Regions from separate parts of the Homo sapiens genome. Here regions 2 and 3 are each linked to region 1. The links are contacts of gene promoters, found by promoter capture Hi-C in human tissues and cell types (Jung and others, 2019). All regions are on one chromosome and are shown on one strand. Each heading gives the region's core, a stretch centred on a gene start or on the middle of the fragment in contact. The rest is flanking DNA. Distances are from core to core; before and after follow the strand shown.

What was found. Contacts are between HindIII fragments. The study calls those that stand out against the background at their distance.
Region 2: a fragment that was not itself captured here is called in contact with the fragment with the promoter of CLDN15 in region 1 in 1 of the 25 tissues and cell types used here (H1 embryonic stem cells).
Region 3: the fragment with the promoter of MUC17 here is called in contact with the fragment with the promoter of CLDN15 in region 1 in 2 of the 25 tissues and cell types used here (adrenal gland and aorta).

The regions. Positions count from the first base shown.
Region 1 is chr7:101,235,966-101,239,408 of GRCh38, forward strand. CLDN15 (claudin 15) reads right to left here and starts at 1,837. Exons shown (of 5, transcript NM_014343.3): 1 at 1,400-1,837. The coding sequence starts at 1,616. The HindIII fragment of the contact is 32,734 bases long and covers 1-3,443 here.
Region 2 is chr7:101,370,308-101,373,737 of GRCh38, forward strand. All of the region lies in intron 1 of COL26A1 (collagen type XXVI alpha 1 chain), which reads left to right. Among named protein-coding and RNA genes, the nearest start is that of COL26A1, 9.1 kb to the left of the region's middle. RefSeq lists an enhancer at 2,312-2,850. The HindIII fragment of the contact is 5,075 bases long and covers 1-3,430 here.
Region 3 is chr7:101,018,194-101,021,737 of GRCh38, forward strand. It overlaps MUC17 (mucin 17, cell surface associated), which reads left to right and starts at 1,888. Exons shown (of 13, transcript NM_001040105.2): 1 at 1,888-2,024. The coding sequence starts at 1,943. It overlaps MUC12 (mucin 12, cell surface associated), which reads left to right. Exons shown (of 12, transcript NM_001164462.2): 12 at 402-743. The coding sequence ends at 443. RefSeq lists a silencer at 295-589 and an enhancer at 639-788. The HindIII fragment of the contact is 20,706 bases long and covers 1-3,544 here.

The DNA.
Region 1 (3,443 bases), core at 587-3,086:
TCTGTAAAAGTTTCCCCCTACTTCCCCACTGTGGAAAAATGTAGGCAGAAGCACCTAGCCCAAGGCCCGGAACCTGGTCACCCTCTACCCCTGTGCCCTGGGGACTCTGGCACCATCTTTCATGCAGTTGCCAGGGGTGCCCCTCTCAGGTGTGCAGGCTCACAGCAGAGCCCCCTCCTCACAGCATGATGTGTCTGGGAAGTGGGTGTAGGGGCTGCCTCCAGTGTCCCTTCTGGACACTCAGAACTCTGGGGTTCTGGCCCAAGTTGTACTCAGCTTTTATAGGGTTTTTTTTGGGGGGGGGGCCCGCCGGCCCTGCATACAGTCAGTCCTAGAGAGATGGATGAAAACAGGAAGCCTCTGCCGCTGCCTCAGGAGGGGCTGGGAGTAGTGGGGGCACAGGAGACCCACCCAGGCCCCCTAACTGCTCAGAGCAGCTCCAACATCCCCGGGGGTGAGCTCTCAAGCCCCGCTTCACAGCCAGTGTCGCCCTCGGCTCCTTCCCTGCCACACGGTGCCTGGTGAGTGGACTGGCCCTGAAGGACCCAGGAGGGCGTGCAGCGGCACCACACACAGTTCACGGTCGCCAGCGCTCAGTCTCTGGCATAGGGCAGACGGAAGGGAGACTGCCCCGGAGAAACAATGGGGCGGCCTCATCTTAGCGGGGAGCAGGGAGCGGGAAGGTGCCGCAGCCACAGAAAGAACTGCCCTGGGCCCAAAGAGCTGTTGGCTCCAGCCCTCTAAGACCCCAGAAAGACACTGTCCTGGAAGCCCCACACACCTGCACACACACCGCCTCCTTACAGCGGACGCTCAACCTGCAACTTGCAAGACGCCTCCCTTCACAGGGGCCCTTTATAGACATCAGCCGGACAAGGAGACCAGTGCCCCCCGACAGTGAGGCTGGGGAGTCTGTGGAGCCTGGAAGTTGATCAACCTCTAAGAATCCAAGATGGGGCCTCCTCCCCCTGCCCACCCCAGCAATCCCACCCCCAAAACATGCTCAACCGTACTGAGTGCCTATGTGTGTTAACATCACGCTAACATTCTGCACTTTCTCAGTCACCTGTGAACTGGGACTCTCACCCTAACCCTACAGGTGGGAGATGAAGCTGGTTTCATCATTTGCCCACAGCACAGGGCTGGGAAAGGGGGTCTGATTCTGGTGCCTGCACCTGTAACAGCTAAAAGCGCCACACTAGCGCAGGGGGCCACGTGTGGCAAGGTCTTCACTCCAGTTCTAGGCATGGGCCGCCCCCAGCACTCCTGGCTGCGGGAACTCAGACCCGCAGAGCTTAATTCAGGGCTCCCTGCATCCTCACGGAAGTACCCGCCCTCCCCTGGGGTCTCTGCAGCTTCCCCGCCGCCCTCTCTCCCTGGAGCGCTCCCCACCCCATACCAGAGAGGGCCAGCATGGACGGGAACTCCCAGCAGTTGTAGACGCCCAGGGAGTCGGTGGCACAGCTAAACCAGAGGTTCTCGAAGATGGTGTTGGTGGTGATGACGTTCCCGTGCACAGTGGACACTCGCCAGTAGCTGTTTGGCAGAGTCACCCCCAGCATCAGCAGCCCCACAGTTGCCATGAAGAAGCCAAAGGTTTCCACAGCCATCGACATGGTGGGATGCAGGACCCTGGGGGGCTGGTGCCCCAGAGAGGGGGAGGGGCAGAACCCCTAGGGAACTGGAAGGGGCTGCGGCTAAGGAGGGTTGTCCAGGCAGGCTGGGGTGGAATCAGCCTCAGCCTCTGCCTGCCTCTTCCTCGGGCTCAGGTCCGTCTCCACTTTCTGCCTCCCTCCTGCTCTGTGGGTCTCTCTGCTTCCTGGCAGGTCAGAGGAATGAGCTAAGCCTGCGCGCGGCAGCTGTTGACGAGATGGAGGGAATAACCGAAACGGGCCAAAAGTCCACCCCCTCCCCCCAGCCTCTGGGCTGCCCCGGGCTCCCCGCCCCACGAGGGTGGGGGGGGCAGACTTACCCTGGAGCCACTGACGGATACAGCCAAGGAGGGGCCCCCAAGGGAGGCACTGGGAACTGAGGGGAAGCGTCTGTCTCTGACTCAGCTTTCATTGGGGGCCAAAGAACGGAGTAAGAGGGACAAGGAGTGAAAAGATGACAGAGACAGACGTGAGAGCAATAAGGGACAGAGACGGAGAGAGAATGAACAGCAGCCTTCAGTGGTGAAGGACGGAGGAACCACGAGAACAATCTAAGATACTCAGACCAAGGGGTTGGGGCGTATGAGTCTCTTAAGGAAGATCAAGCTGGAATGAGGGGATGGGAGGGTAGGAGACCCACAGCTCTGGGCTCCATCCAGCCTGGAATGGAACTCGGCCCCACCATCCATTCACCAGGGAACTCAGGCGGGGAGTTTTAGTCCCCTGAGCTTCTGCTCTGTCAGTGACATACCCGACTGCTTACTGCAGGGGCTGTGGTGAGAACTGGGACCAGGGGCCGGGCGCAGTGGCTCTCGCCTGTAATCCTACCACTTTGGGAGGCTGGGCTGAGACGATTGCTTGAACTCAGGAGTTCAAGACCAGCCTGGGCAACACACTGAGACCTCGTTGGGACCAGGGAGTCAAGCCCCCCACACATAACCAGCGCTTGGCACCGGGAACTGTCCTGGATGTGAGTGTCACAGGGCTGAGGCCACCAGGGAGTCGCTCTCACCCAAAACTCAAATTTCCTCCTAAGTTGATCTTTGACTCAGCATCGAGCCTGGTCCTGCTGGCCAACAGCCTGGAGCGTGATCCTGTGGCTAAGCTCTGCAACCTGTTCCCAGTTATCAGGGACTGTCACCCACTCTATTCGTTAATGATGATGGATTAGCAGCCTCTGGTCCCCATCCCGAGCCAGTGCAGAGCACCTGTCCCAGAGCAGACACTCTCATCTCCTGCTCCGGTTCCCTAGGGCTCTGTCCCTGGGGGCCATCAGCGCTGGCTGCGCACCTCCCTGGCCCCACGGCCCTGCTGGGCTTCTCCGGCCTCCCCTCAGGTGTCTCCTCCCTACTCCTGTGCTGGCCTGGGCTGTGGAACGAGAGGTATGCGGTGAAGCAAAACAGGCCCATGCCGAGCCTGGCACGAGGGGGCGAAGCTGGCTAGGTGGGGCTGAGTCCTGACCTTCCAGCCCACAGGCGAGAGCTGGGGCTCCCTGGGCTCTGACCTCTCCCGGGACCCCCGCCTACTCCATGCCAGATGCAGGATTCCTTCCCCTACTGGGCTCCCCCTCCCCCAGAGGAGGAGGTAGGAGGAAGGGGAGGCCACAGGAAGACAAAGGGAGGGGAGGGTGGGGAGGAGGAAGCCAAGGGGGCCTGCTGTGGAAAACTCCACAGAAGTAGCTGAGTGGGTCAGAGGAGAATGCAGGCCTGAAGCCCGGCCTGGCCCCGAAGTTCTGCCCGCCCATGCTCAGGTCACTGCCTTCTCCCAGGACTCTGGGACCATGGAAAAGCC
Region 2 (3,430 bases), core at 824-3,323, 130 kb after region 1:
TTGGCTAGATATTTAAAAGTATAAAATCAAGCTGACACACTGTTTGTTTTGTTGTTGTTGTTTGTTTTGTTTTTGTTTTTTGAGACGGAGTCTGGCTCTGTTGCCCAGGCTGGAGTGCAGTGGCACGATCTTAGCTCACTGCAACCTCCGCTTCCCAGGTTGAAGCGATTCTCCTGCCTCAGCCTTCCGACTAGCTGGTATTACAGGCATGCACCACCATGCCTGGCTAATTTTTTGTATTTTTAGAAGAGATGGGGTTTTGTCATGTTGGCCAGGCTGGTCTCGAACTCCTGACCTCAGGTTATCTGCCCACCTCATCCTCCCAAAGTGCTGGGATTACAGGCATGAGCCACTGCACCCTGCCCACCTTTCCTTCATCTATACCTGCTGCTTCAAACTCTCTCTGTCTCTGAATTCACTTTCTTGTGGTTTCGTCTAAGCCAAAGTGCTTGGTGTGTCCCCTCCTCACTCAAAATGCCTCCCTCTTACCTTGACTCCCCCCTCTTTTGGTAGAACCACAAGCACCCTTCCTCCAGGAAGTCTCTCTGGATTTACCTCCCAGCTTTCTGTTCATCTCATTTGTGGGTAGCCCCTGCACCTGTGATTTGTGGGTAGCCCCTGCATCTGTGATTGTGGTTTTGGTTCTAGAACTCACTTCCCCAGTTTCCCTCCTTGCAGATGGAGTCATTTCTCCTTCCTCATTTACTCCCTACAGGAGTGGCTCTGAGCAGCCGTCCTTGGGCAAGCGTGCATGAGCTGGAGCTTAGCCCTGCCCACCACCCACCACTGCCTCTTGGAAATGTGAGCCGCTCCAGGTCAGGCATTTAATCACCTTGCATTCACTGAGCCCACGTGTAGGTAGGGTAGAGGCTGGGGACTCAAACGTGAAGGCAGGGGGCTGTGCCTGGTGGCCTGCATGGAGGAAGAGCTCAGCAGACTCTGGGGAAGTGGATGATCACATCCATGGGGACTTGTCCCTCCGACTGGATTGCATGCCTCTGCAGTGTTGGACCCCTGCCTTTGCTCTCTGGTTCCCTACATTCAAGAATTGGCAACTGTGATTAGCTATGGTGCCTCATGCCTTTAATCCCAGCACTTTGGGAGACCGAGGTGGGAGGATCACTTGAGCCCAGGAGTTTGAGACCAGCTGGGACAACATAGCCAGACCCTGTCTCTGTAAAAAAAAAAAAAATTAAAAAATTAGCTGGGTGTGGTGGTGCACACTTGTAGTCCTGGTGGAAGCTGAGGTAGGAGGATCACTTGAGCCCAGGAGTTTGAGACCAGCCCGGGAAATATAGTCAGACCCTGTCTTTGCAAAAAAAAAACTTTAAAAAATTAGTTGGGCATGGTGGTGCACACTTGTAGTCCCAGGTATTTGGGAGGCTAAGGTGGGAAGAACGCTTGAACCCAGGAAGTTGAAGCTGCAGTGAGCTATGATTACACCACTGCGCTCCAGCCTGGGTGACAGAGTGAGACCCTGTCTCTGGGGCAGTGAGATGTTTCAGACCCAGCCTCCGTCCTTGATGAGCTCAGAGACTGGTTGGGGAAAACAGATCCATGAGCAAGAGTGGAATTTGGTGTGATACAAATGTGTGCAAAGTGAGCTAGGGGAGTTAGGGTTTGTGGGAGCCTGGGAGTCTTTGTGCCTCAGTTTTCTCATCTGTAAAATGGGAATGACTTCAGTACTTCATTAAGTTGTTCTGGGGCTTACATGGGTTAATATTAATAATGTTCTTAGGAAAAAGGATAGTAAACCCTCTGTTCATGAATGTGACCGTGGACTGCATTCATATGCCTTGCAAAGGTTGCAAGGACGGGGGAGTTCCACAAATATATGAAGCCTTGGAATCTTTTTCTGGGGAGCATTTTGTTTTTTGAGACGGAGTCTGGCTGTGTTGCCCAGGCTGGAGTGCAGTGGTGCGATCTTGGCTCACTGCAACCTCCGCCTCCAGGGTTCAAGCGATTGTCCTGCCCCAGCCTCCCAAGTAGCTGGGATTACAGGCGCCCACCAACATGCCAGGCTAAGTTTTGTATTTTTAGTAGAGCTGGGGTTTCTCCACGTTGGCCAGGTCTTGAACTCCTGACGTCAAGTGATCCATCTGCCTTGGCCTCCCAAAGTGCTGGGATTATAGGTGTGAGCCACCGCACCTGGCCTTCTGGGGAGCATTTTGTTAGGATTGTGTTCCTGACCACATACTTAGGGAAATGTTCTAGTGGATAGAGACTAAATGTTGAGGACTTCTCAGAGGAGTCAACATAGGAGGTGGGTTTTGTAGGATGAACAGGAGAGCTTGAGGCAGTGACTGGGGCATTCTGGGCAGACAGACAACTGTGTAAAGGCTTGGAAGTGTCATTAGCTATTGCCTGACATATAGTTAGTGGGACTGAGTTCAGAGTGGCTGGACTAATGGGATGTGGTGGCTCATGCCTGTAATCCCAGCACTTTGGGAGGCCAAGGTGGGAGGATTGCTTGAGCTCAGGAGTTCAAGACCAGCCTGGGCAACACAGCAAGACCCCGTCTCTACCAAAAATAAAAAATTAGCCAGGTGTGGTGGAACACACCTGTAGTCTCAGCTACTCAGGAGACTGAGGTGGGAGGATTGCTTGAGCCCAGGAGTTTGAGGCCGCAGTGAACTATGATCGTGCCACTGCACTCCAATCAGGGTGACAGAGCAAGAGCAGACCATGGGCTTGGGCAGGCAGAGGACAGGCACTGAGCTTTTGGAGTCTGGATGTGAAGTCTCCTTCCTGCCACCTTGAGGAGCTTGCCTTCATAGTCTGGGCTTTGTCACAGTCAGGCTTGTGCCAACTTTGCTGGTCGGGGAGAGGCTGGCAGAGGAAGGATAGTGGAAGGAGGGAGGCCAGTTAGGAGGTAGTTGATGGATGGAGCAGGGGAGAAGGGAGTGCTCAGAGCTAGCAGGACCTGGCCCCTTGGTGGATCACGGATAGGCAGAGACAGGCTACAGGCCTGAGCTCCTGGCTGTCTCCAGTGCCTGGGGGACACCAAGGAGCCTGCTGCTTTGCTTCTCAGAACATTGCAAATTTTTTGCAGCACTTTCTTGGTTTGCAATGGCAGCAAAGCAGAGTTCAAACATCTTGCATTTTTGTGAAATACTTTTATTTTTCCTGCATGGAGTTTTCAACCCCAAATTTCAGCATCTCCTGGACTTGCACGGATCAGGTGCTCAAGGAAAGTTTGTTGAGTGAATGAATGAACACATGAATGAATGAACAAATACCTTGACCTTTCTCCTTTGGGACACCGAGGCAGTGCCTCTGCCTCAGTGCACGTTTGCAGTTCTGAGGGATCCTGGAGCGAGGTCCCTTTCTCTGCACAGGCCAGCTCCTGAAGCTGCTTTTAGGGGAACCATGGAGACTCCAGCTTTAGAGGTCCCGCTTCTCCCTTTGAAGTGTGAGCACATAGAGGAGG
Region 3 (3,544 bases), core at 638-3,137, 220 kb before region 1:
TCCCTCCCTCCCCCTGGGACCCCTTCCCTTCCCCCGGGACTCCCTCCCTTCCCCCGGGACTCCCTCCTCCCCCAGGACTCCCTCCTCTCCTTAGGACTCCCTCCCTCTCCCTGGGACACTCTCCCTACCCCTGGGACTCCCTTCTCCCCCTAGGACTCCCTCCCTTCTCCTGGGACTCCCTCCTCCCCCAGGACTCCCTCCTCACCCTGGGGCCACCCCTTCCCCTGGGACTCCCCCCTCCCCCGCCACTCCCTCCTCTCCCTAGGACTCCCTCCCTCCCCCTGGGACTCCCTCCCTCCCCCTGGGGTTCCCTCCTCCCCGCCAGGGCTCCCTCTTCCTCCTGGGGCTCCCCCTTTCCCGGGTCTGCCCCTTGGCCTCACCTCTTCTCTCCCGTCCCCCAGCTCCACATCCAGAGGCCGGAGATGGTAGCATCCACTGTGTGAGCCAACGGGGGCCTCCCACCCTCATCTAGCTCTGTTCAGGAGAGCTGCAAACACAGAGCCCACCACAAGCCTCCGGGGCGGGTCAAGAGGAGACCGAAGTCAGGCCCTGAAGCCGGTCCTGCTCTGAGCTGACAGACTTGGCCAGTCCCCTGCCTGTGCTCCTGCTGGGGAAGGCTGGGGGCTGTAAGCCTCTCCATCCGGGAGCTTCCAGACTCCCAGAAGCCTCGGCACCCCTGTCTCCTCCTGGGTGGCTCCCCACTCTGGAATTTCCCTACCAATAAAAGCAAATCTGAAAGCTCAGAATGAGAAGTGAGAGGTTTCCTTCTCCTCCTTCTGCAGTTGGGGTCAGGTTAGGGGTCAGAGCCCTCCTGGGATGGGATTTCTCCCAGGACTGGCTGCTGAATGGGGCATGGAACGAATGCTCTGGGCCCCTTCCTGTGTCTTTGCAGGGAGCCCCCTCCCCGGCTCCAGTCAGGACAGGTCTAGGCCTGCCTCTGCTGAGGTCCCTGTGGCAGAAAAGCCTAATGTCAGGTTCTGGGGACAGGAGAGGACCTCAGATTCAACCCCAGTTGGCCAGGGAGTGAGCACTTGGCTCTGCTGAGCTTGCACAAGGCAGGGTCACTCCAGATGGCCATGGGAGCTGTGCTTACCTCGGAACCCACAGACCAAACCCAAGAACTCCCTGCCCAGGCATGGCCATGTCTTCAGGGCATACTCATAGGACAATAAGAAGGGTTATTTTATTTATTTATTTTTGCCGAGACAGAGTCTTGCTCTGTTGCCCAGGCTGGAGTACGGAGGCACGATCTTGGCTCTCTGCAACCTCCGCCTCCCAGGTTCAAGCGATTCTCCTGCCTCAGCCTCCTGAGTAGCTGGGATTACAGGCGCCCGCCACCAAGTCTGGCTGATTTTTGTATTTTTAGTAGAGATGGTGTTTCATCATGTTGGCCAGGTTGGTCTCAAACTCCTCATCTCAAGTGATCTTCCCGCGTCAGCCTCCCAAAGTGCTGGGATTACAGGTGTGAGCCACCATACCCGGCCAATAAGAAGGGTTAGAAAAGAGACAAAGGGGGTGTCCCTGCTAGGGGTTAGGGTCAAATGCAGGTGGTACCCTCCTCCTTTCCCAGCTCAGGCCCAGTCCCTCTTGCCCATCTCCCACCACCCTCGGTCGGGGGATCTCATCAGTTCCCCCCTGGCTCCTACAGGCCCTCTGGGCTGCCCCTCTGTTGGGGTGATAAAGCTGATAACCCTCATGCCTATGGGCTGCCGGGCCAGGGAGAGGCACCCCCTCCCTCTGCCCTTTGGCCTGAAACAGGCCCTGCGCCCCAAGTCATGAGGGAAGCTTCCAGACTGACTCAGGCTCAGGCTGGCCCCTGATCCCCAGTGTCTCAGGGACCAAAGGTCTCTGGCACCCATTTATTTATCAGTTTCCTTCTCTGAGGCTCATTTCGCCAGCTCCTCTGGGGGTGACAGGCAAGTGAGACGTGCTCAGAGCTCCGATGCCAAGGCCAGGGACCATGGCGCTGTGTCTGCTGACCTTGGTCCTCTCGCTCTTGCCCCCACAAGCTGCTGCAGAACAGGGTGAGTGACCCCCACGCCCCGCTGCCCAAGAGGCCCCCATCCCAGGGGCCAGCCTGCTCTGTCTGCCCATCCCCGAGGGAGAGCTGCCTCCAGGACACCAATAGGGGTGTGCCCTCTGCCTGGAGCTCAGCCCTGTGCCTACCCCCTGGACTTCTCTTCTCTCCCCAGCGAGCTTTGGGGGAAGAGCCAGGGCATTGGAGCCTCTTCCAGTTGAGGTCTCTGAGCCTTAGTTTCCCCTTCCGAGCCTCAGTCTCCCCTCCGGAAAGTAAGAATAATAACACCTGCTTTTCAGGGCAGCTGCTAGGATTGAAAAGAGCTCCCCCCCCGAGGCATGATCCCTGGCACAAGACTGGTGTTCAACCCATATTAGAGTCTATCCTTACCCAGTGAATGTTCCCGCCAAGTCCCTGTCACCTCCCACACCAGCACACCCTGCTGTGTGCCCCAGGAATGTTTCCGGGACATAGCCACATGGGCACAAAATGGCGTTTCAGGAGCCCCAGATTCTAATCCTGCCATGAACCAGCTGTGCACCCTGGGGCCGCTCAGTTCATCTCCTGCCTCAGTCTCCCCAAAAGACAAGGCATTAGGACCTCTGAGGATCATTCCAGCTCAGCCGCTTTGGGCTTCATGGCCACAGGGACCCCGGGGGGCTCAGAGCAGGAGGGATGACAGTGGGTTCCAGCTGGACTCTCTGGGAGCTCCCTCTGCCCCTCACCTGCCCCCAGAGAAGGGCGCAGGGGAACCAAGACAGAAACTGGACCCATAGACCTCAGGGTCCCTGCCCCTCGAGATGTCACCCTGTGGCAATCTCACCCAGATCTGCCAGCCCATTCGTTGTAATGAAAACACTCCTTTCCTTGCACTTTCTGTGCCTTCCAGACCCTTGGTGATGTATCTCTAATAACAGCATCTTAGACATGATCTTTTGTTTTCCTCCCCAACCCTCACCTCTGTCTCCTCCTTTTTTTTTTTTTTTTTTTTTTGAGACGGAGCCTCGCTCTGTCACCCAGGCTGGAGTTCTGTAGCGTGATGTCAGCCCACTGCAACCTCTGCCTCCCGGGTTCAAGCGATTCTCCCGCCTCAGGCTCTTGAGTAGCTGGGATTACAGCCACATGCCACCATGCCCAGCTAGATTTTGTATATTTTTAGTAAGGACAGGGTTTCACCATGTTAACCGGGCTGGTCTCAAACTCCTGATCTCAGGTAGTCCTCCCACCTTGGGCTCCCAAAGTGCTGGGATTACAGGGGTGAGCCACCGCTCCTGGCCCCCTCCTTTCTTTCTCTCTGCTCCTCCCTTCCCTCTTCCTGGGTTCTTCTAGCCCCTTCCTTCCCCCTCTCTTCTCTTTCTTCTTCTCCCCACCTCTCCTTGGCCCCTTCCTGGCCTCTCCCCACTTTCTGCGTGTTATCATTGATTTCATCCCTAGCCTCAGTCTGCCTTTGTAGAATGTGACTTCTCAGACCCTGTTCCTACTCTCCAGGATTCTGTGGCTCCTCCGTCTCTGTGCCTGGCATTGGCT